2 separate regions of the Homo sapiens genome follow, and region 1 is linked to region 2. Evidence: promoter capture Hi-C in human tissues and cell types (Jung and others, 2019). All regions are on one chromosome and are shown on one strand. The core of a region is centred on a gene start or on the middle of the fragment in contact, and the rest is flanking DNA. Distances in the headings are between cores, read along the strand shown.

Evidence for each region. Contacts are between HindIII fragments. The study calls those that stand out against the background at their distance.
Region 1: the fragment with the promoter of EMC9 here is called in contact with a fragment that was not itself captured in region 2 in 6 of the 25 tissues and cell types used here (aorta, dorsolateral prefrontal cortex, heart left ventricle and 3 more).

Annotation. Positions count from the first base shown.
Region 1 is chr14:24,139,972-24,143,965 of GRCh38, forward strand. EMC9 (ER membrane protein complex subunit 9) reads right to left here and starts at 1,620. Exons shown (of 6, transcript NM_016049.4): 1 at 1,467-1,620; 2 at 1,136-1,345; 3 at 918-994. The coding sequence starts at 1,333. It overlaps PSME2 (proteasome activator subunit 2), which reads right to left. Exons shown (of 11, transcript NM_002818.3): 10 at 3,614-3,700; 11 at 3,394-3,518. The coding sequence ends at 3,438. MIR7703 (microRNA 7703) reads right to left here and starts at 3,594; the gene lies at 3,518-3,594. RefSeq lists a silencer at 1,454-1,543. The HindIII fragment of the contact is 5,248 bases long and covers 34-3,994 here.
Region 2 is chr14:24,007,010-24,010,867 of GRCh38, forward strand. It overlaps the pseudogene DHRS4L1. Among named protein-coding and RNA genes, the nearest start is that of DHRS4L2, 20 kb to the left of the region's middle. The HindIII fragment of the contact is 5,422 bases long and covers 1-3,858 here.

The DNA.
Region 1 (3,994 bases), core at 370-2,869, 130 kb after region 2:
TGGAAACAACCTCAATGTTTAAAGTATTAAATAAATTAGAGTACATTCATATTCAGACTATATAGCTGTTACGGTAGATCTTGGTGTGGAAATGGGATGATGTCAAGTATTTATTAAGTGAGGGAGAAACGCAAATTACAAAACAGTACCTCTAATTGCTCCATGTATATGATTAATATATATATATATATATATATGTCTTTTCCTATATGTATATATATAAGGAAACTGCCTTATTTTTGAAGTTGCTGGTTGGGATTTCTCTGTTCTTTCAGCCCCTGGGGGACACCTCAGTTAAAGCAAGATCAGTCTGTTGGCCGAGAGTGGTGGCTCACGCCTGTAATCCCAGCACTTTGGGAGTCCGAGGCGCGTGGATCACCTGAGGTCAAGTTCTAGACCAGCCTGGCCAACATGGCGAAACCCCATCTCTACTAAAAATAAAAAATAATAATAAATTAAAAAAATAAAAAAAATTAGCCGGGCATGGTGGCGCTCATCTGTGATCCCAGCTACTCGGGAGGCTGAGGCAGGAGAATCGCTTGAATCTAGGAGGTGGAAGTTCCAGTGAGCCGAGATTGCGCCACTGCACTCCAGCCTGGGAGACAGAGGGAGACTCCGTCTCAAAAAAAAAAAAAAAATCAGTCTGTTGATACACAGTTGTCCTCCCCGCCCCAACGGCACTCCAGGGCAGGGCTCTGTCCTATTCATCTTTATATTCCCTCACTCCAGTACCCAGCATAGTGCCTGGTGTAAAGCCCCTGCTCCTAAGCGTTTGATGAAGGAAAGATAAAAGGAACGACCTTGGTTCATCTTGTGCGCCCCCGCCCCGCCCACCGCCCCACGCATCCTCGCCCTCTATTCCTCCAATCCCCAACCCGCCATAATCCTTTCCTTCTTCCTCTGGCTACGCCACTCACCTCTGATCGTTCACAGCTGCATTGGCATGGTAGTAACCAGCCACCACCAGACCGGCCTGTGCTCCCCACACATCCACCTGTCGTAGGAAAGGGGCCATCAGTAATTAAATTGTGCCGCTGGCTTTGTGGATGCGCACTGCTGCCAAGGGACCGGGGATGAACTTGGGCTGGGGTGTTGGGTGGGTTCGCGGTGGGGGATGGGCATCCAACGGAGGCACCTGGTTGAGGGCGACCTCCAACATGACGGACAGGGCCAGGTGGCTGTGGAAGAGGGGCACACAGTCGGTGAGGCACAGGCATTCTCCAGACCGCGGCGCTGGCGCCAAAAACAGCCCGTTGACTGCGGCGTGTGGGTACCGGGCAGCATGCAGGCACATCTTCACGTAGGCCAGGGCCGAGATCTCCACCTCCCCCATGGCGAGCGAGGCCTGGACGGGAAGCAGCAAGCCGGATTAGTACCGGATTAGGCGAGCCGGTGCCTAGCTCGCGTCCGTGAAGCTCCCTCCAGCGCTTCGGCACGCTCTTTGACCCTTCCCCGTGCCCTCTCACTTCGGTTCGGCGACAACGCTAACTCGACTCGCAGGTAGCCCGCCGGCTCCCGGCGCCCTGGGTCCCGGAGTCCGCCCCCGGCCCAGTCCAGGAGGAGGTCCCGATTGCATCCGAGCCCCGCCTTCCCGCGCCCCTAGCTGGCGGCCGCGACTCTGCGCCTGCCTGGGAGACAGACCAAACTGCAGCTCCCTGCAGAACTGGCTCCTGGAGTCCCGCCCACGTGGTGCTCCTTGATAGGGCTAAAGGCTTTCAATTTGTCCAATCAGCGGCCGCGCCCCAACGTTGCCCCGCCTTTGTCTCCAGCGGACTGGAAAGAACCCACCATTGTGAAGCACAGAAAATTGCCCGCACTCTTATTGGCTAGGTTCCCCGACTTCCGCTCTCGGTTGGTGGTTGGCTTTGCCTGTTACCTGTGTTGCCCACTACCACTCGCTCCGCCGAGCCCCAAGGATGGATCGCTATCCCGTAGCCGGGTGTTCCGGAGCGCTGCGGGCAAAGCAGACCGCCTTGCGCCTATTATGGGTTGAGTGGCTCTGTACTCTAGATCGGCTCTGTCACTTACTAATGGGCCGTGTTGCCTTCGCGACTGCAGGTTTTCTTGCCCTTGGTTTATCTTTTGCCCGTGTTCCTTTAAGGATTTAATGAGATATGTATGGGGGCAGGCTTCCAGCCAGTCTAGTGCTTCGCAGCACATTCTTATCTCATATTTTATGACAGGATAAGGCCCTGAATTAAAGAACAATCCCATGGAGTTTACAGCAAGATCACAGCAAAGGAACCCTTGTCTCTATCACCAGCCCAGGGCTGAATCTTGAAAAGCAGAGATAAAGACAGTGATTGGCTGAAGGGGATATGGGGGAGGACAGTAAGAAAAACTTACAGATTCATCCTTCCCATAATGTCCTGCGATGTATTTCCTTCACCACAGTGCCTTGGAAGCATTATTTTTTCCCCTCCTAGCCCTTAAGGAGGGAGTCCAGGCCCGGCGCGGTGGCTCACGCCTTGTAATCCCAGCACTTTGGGAGGCCGAGGTGGGTGGATCGCCTGAGGTCAGGAGTTCGAGACCAGCCTGGCCAACATGGCGAAACCCCGTCTCTATTAAAAATACAAAAAAATTAGCCAGGTGTGGTGGCACATGCCTGTAATTCCAGCTACTCGGGAGGCTGAGGCAGGAGAATTGCTTGAACCCGGGAGACGGAGGTAGCAGTAAGCTGAGATCGTGCCATTGCACTCCAGCCTGGGCAACAGAGCAAGACTCCATCTCAAAAAAAAAAAAAAAAGGGTGGGGGGAGTCCAATCATTCATCCGTAGTTCTCCATAGTTCTCCCAGTGAAACCTTATTCTCCTTCTAGGCTTTTCCTGAACTGATGAGGATTCTTTCTTTCTTCATTCCTGATGTTGACCACAGAACTTTCCCCTTGTGTATCCAAAGCCTGATTATTCCCATAAGGGCTCTGTGCAAATGCCATCTCTTCCAATAATTCCTGAGACCTCTGGATGAAAATAATACTGTTACATTCCAAAATACAGGTTATCTGCATGGCTGCCATGGCATGTAACAATCCCCACCCTAGGCACTCAGGGTGAAGGACTTGGACTATAAACCCAATGGAGAAGATAGCCCTTCAACCTCTGTGACTTTTCTAAAGCTACTTTCCCCCCTTTTTGCCTTAGATGGAAACAGATAAGCAGGAGAAGAAAGAAGGTAAGTGAGATAAGAGGTGACTAGGGAAGGGGAGATGGCACATTGACTACTGGATGAGAAAGGGCCTGAATCCCCTCTTTCTCACAGTCAAGATTACAGTGGGCATCTAAGTCATCTTTGTCTTTGTGACACCCACCCCTTCCCACCACATTCATCTTCAGGCTGGACATAGGTGCCACTCAATAAATGCTTTTTGAATGAATGACACACGCCAGAAGGGAATCCACACAACATATAGATCATTTATTTTCCTTCTAGTCCCGGGTTCAGTACATAGATGGCTTTTCTTCACCCTTTGGGTTGACAATTTTCTCCAGGTTGCTGCTGATGATATGATAAAGCTCAGCCTGGGAGAAGGCCAGAGTGCAAGAGTCAGGTTCTTAGCCAATCCCCTGCCTGCCCCCACTCATCCACCTCCCCTAAAGCCTTACTCCACACTCACATAGAAGGCCCTCAGGTCCAGCACCATGGCCCTGAGCTCCCCATAGGCTGCCTCATCTCGCTCATGCACCAAGGCCCGGTAATCCATCTGCAATGTGGGAGGCAAAGCTGAGTCAGTCCCATGGGAGGCTGGGACATGAGTCTGGTTTCCTTTTATAGGAAATAGGTTAACTTGAGAATGAACCCCTTCTTAGCACCAAGAAATAGGATCCCAAAGGACTGAGCAGAGAAAAGGGTCAAGGTTGTTGAAGCCCAAACCAGTTTTTCTAGGTAATGCTTTTAGCTTAATATTCTCCACATTGGGAAAGTCACAAACAAGACAAGGAGGACTTCTTCCTCCACACCTCCTCGTCCCACACCCAGCTAAAAGGCTGGTGGACTA
Region 2 (3,858 bases), core at 1,277-3,776:
GTCGGGCAGCTCTCCGGGCCGGCGTGGGAGCCCGCGCTCCAAAGCCCGGTGGGGGGAGGGGCGCTCACGCAACCGCCACTGTCTGGAGCGGGCTCGCCTCTGCGGCGGCACTCACCGCCCGGGCTTTACTGAAGCGGAGTCTAGCATGTGCGGCTGCTCCACAGCGGTGTGGGTGGCGGCGGCTCCTCTGCAGCAGCCTCGGCAGTAGGGGTCACGGTGGCCAAGCCCACCGTGGAGCTCATCTGAGAGTTGTAAGGTACGGGACTGCCTCGGTCTTTGGGACGCCCCGTCTGGTAGCATCCCAGATCCAGCACGTTCCTTCCGGCCCTGCACCCCGGCCCGGTGCCTCACACCCCGCTACCCCATGCATCCAGACTCTAAGGCAGCCCCTGCATCTCAGTCCTGACATCGCTGTCCCTGGAGCATCCTCCGCTGGAGCTGGAGCTTGACAGGTAGGGTGGAGAGGGCCGTGGGGGGGGTGCGGAAACTGCATCAATTAACGGGGCCGTGGGGGAGGGAAGTCCTCCATTGCTAAGGCTTCAGTAGGCGTTCTATGATCACAGTGTAAACAAAGCTGCAGGGAAGCTCTAACTGGGCGGAACCCACCGCAGCTCAGCAAGGCCTACTGCCTCTCCAGATTCCACCTCAGGGGCCAGGGCATATCTGAGCAAAAGGCAGCAGACAGCTTCTGCAGACTTCAGTGTCCTTGCCTGACATCTCTAAAGACAGCAGTGGTTCTCCCAGCACGGAGTTCGTGCTCCGATAACGGACAGACTGCCTCCCCAAGTGGGTCCCTGACCCCCATGTAGCTTGACTGAAAAACACCGCCCAGTAGGGGCAGAGAGACACCTCATACAGGTGGGTGCCCCTGTGGAACAAAGCTTCCAGAAGAAGGATCAGGCAGCAATATTTGCTGTTCTGCAGCCTCCTCTACTGATACCCAAGAAAATAAGGTCTGGAATGGACTTCCAGCAAACCCCCAAAGACCTGCAGCTGAGGGGCCTGTTAGAAGGAAAACTAACAAACAGAAAGGAATAGCATCAACATCAGCAAAGGACAGCATCAACATCAGAACAGGAAAGGACATCCACACTAAAACCCCATCCATAGGTCACCAACATCAAAGACCAAAGGTAGATAAAACCACAAAGATGGAGAGAAACCAGAGCAAAAAGGCTGAAACTTCCAGAAATCAGAACGTCTCTTCTCTTCCAAAGGAATACAAGTCCTCACCAGCAAGGGAACAAAACTGGATGGAGAATAAGTTTGATGACTTGACAGACGTAAGCTTCAGAAGGTCAGTAATAACAAACTACACCCAGCTAAAGGAGCATGTTCTAACCCATTGCAAGGAAGCTAAAAACCTTGACAAAATGTTAAACGAATGGCTAACTAGAATGAAGAATCTAGAGAAGAGCTTAAATGACCTGATGGAGCTGATAACCACAGTACAAGAACTTCATGAAGGATACACAAGCTTCAATAGCTGATTCAATCAAGTGGAAGAAAGGATATCAGTGATTGAATATAAAATTAATGAAATAAAGTGAGAACACAAGATTAGAGACAAGAAAAGAAAAAAGAAACATTCAAATTCAGGAAATACAGAGAACATCACAAAGACACTCCTTGAGAAGAGCAACCCCAAGACACATAATTGTCAGATTCAGCAAGGTTAAGGGCAGCCAGAGAGAAAGGTTGGGTTACCAACAAAGGGAAGCCCATCAGACTAACAGCAGATCTCTCAGCAGAAACCATACAAACCAGAAGAGAGTCGGGACCAATATTCAACATTCTGAAAGAAAAGATTTTTGGAACTAGAATTTCATATCCAGCCAAACTAAGCTTCGTAAGTGAAGGAGAAATAAAATCCTTTACAGACAAGCAGATGCTGAGAGAGTTTGTCACCACCAGGCCTGCCTTACAATAAGAGCTCCTGAAGGAAGCACTAAACATGGAAAGGAACAACCAGTACCAGCCACTGCAAAAACATACGAAATTGTAAAGACCATTGATGCTATGAAGAAACTGCATCAATTAATGGGCAAAATAACCAGCTAACGTCATGACAGGATCAAATTCACATATAACAATACTAACCTTCAATGTAAATGGGATAAATGCCCCAATTAAAAGACACTGACTGGCAAATTGGATAAAGAATCAAGACCCATATGGTGTGCTGTATTCAGGAGACCCAATCTCACGTGCAAAGACACACATAGGCTCAAAATGAAGGTGTGTCTGGAATTGGTGGGTTCTTGGTCTCACTGACTTCAAGAATGAAGCCACGGACCCTCGCAGTGAGTGTTACAGTCCTTAAAGGCAGCGTGTCCGGAGTTTGTTCCTTCTGATGTTCAGACACGTTCAGAGTTTTTTCCTTCTGGTGGGTTCGTGGTCTCGCTGGCTTCAGGAGTGAAGCTGCGGACCTTCACAGTGAGTGTTACAGCTCTTAAGGCGGCATGTCTGGAGTTGTTCGTTCCTCCCATCCGGAGTTGTTCATTCCTCCCACTGGGTTCGTGGCCTCACTGGCCTCAGGAGTGAAGCTGCAGACCTTCACGATGAGTGTTACAGCTCATAAAGGCCGTGTGGACCCAAAGAGTGAGGGGCAGCAAGATTTATTGCAAAGAGCGAAAGAACAAAGCTTCCACAGTGTGGAAGGGGACCCAAGCAGGTTGCTACTGTTTGAAGGGGTGGCTTGCCCCTCCACACCTGTGGGTATTTCTAGTCAGGTGGGACGAGAGACTGAGAAAGAGAAATAAGACACAGAGACAAAGTATAGAGAAACAACAGTGAGCCCAGGGGACCGGCGCTCAGCATACCAAGGACTTGCACCGGCACCGGTCTCTGAGTTCCCTCAGTTTTTATTGATTATTATCGTCATTATTTCAGTAAAAAGGAATGTAGTAGGAGGGCAGGGTGATAATAAGGAGAAGGTCAGCAACAAACGTGAGCAATAGAATCTAATAATTCAGTTCAAGGGAAGGTACTATGACTGGACATGCACGTAAGCCAGATTTATGTTTCTCTCCACCCAAACATCTCGGTGGAGTAAAGAATAACGAGGCAGCATTGCTGCAAACATGTCTCGCCTCCCACCATAGGGCGGTTTTTCTCTCATCTCAGAACTGAACAAATGTACAATCGGGATTTATACCGAGACTTTTAGTTCCCAGGAGCAGGCAGGAGACAGTGGCCTTCCTCTATCTCAACTGCAAGAGGCCTTCCTTTTTTACTAACCCACCGCAGCACAGACCCTTTATGGGTGTCGGGCTGGGGGACAGTCAGGTCTTTCTCATCCCAGGAGGCCATATTTCAGACTATCACATGGGGAGAAACCTTGGACAATACCCTGCTTTCAAGGGCAGAGGTCCCTGCGGCTTTCTGCAGTGCACTGTGCCCCTGGTTTATTGAGACTAGAGAATGGCGATGACTTTTACCAAGTATACTGCTTGTAAACATTTTGTTAACAAGGCACGTCCTACACAGTCCTAGATCCCTTAAACCTTGATTTCATACAACACATGTTCTTGTGAGCTCCAGGTTGGGTCAAAGTGGTTGGGTCAAAGTGGCTGGGGCAAAGCTAAAAATTAACAACATCTCAGAAAAGCAATTATTTAAAGTACAGGTCTTTTTCAAAATGTAGTCTCTTATGTCTTCCCTTTCTACATAGACACGGTAACAGTCTGATCTCTCTTTCTTTTCCCTACATATCCCCCTTTTCTTTTTGACAAAACTGTCATTGTCACCATGGCCTGTTTTTGCTGGTCACTGTCTTTCTGGAACTGCTGGATACACCTGTAGACTAACAATAGAGAGGGCAGACATACAAGGATTAATACAAAATTTGCAATAGTG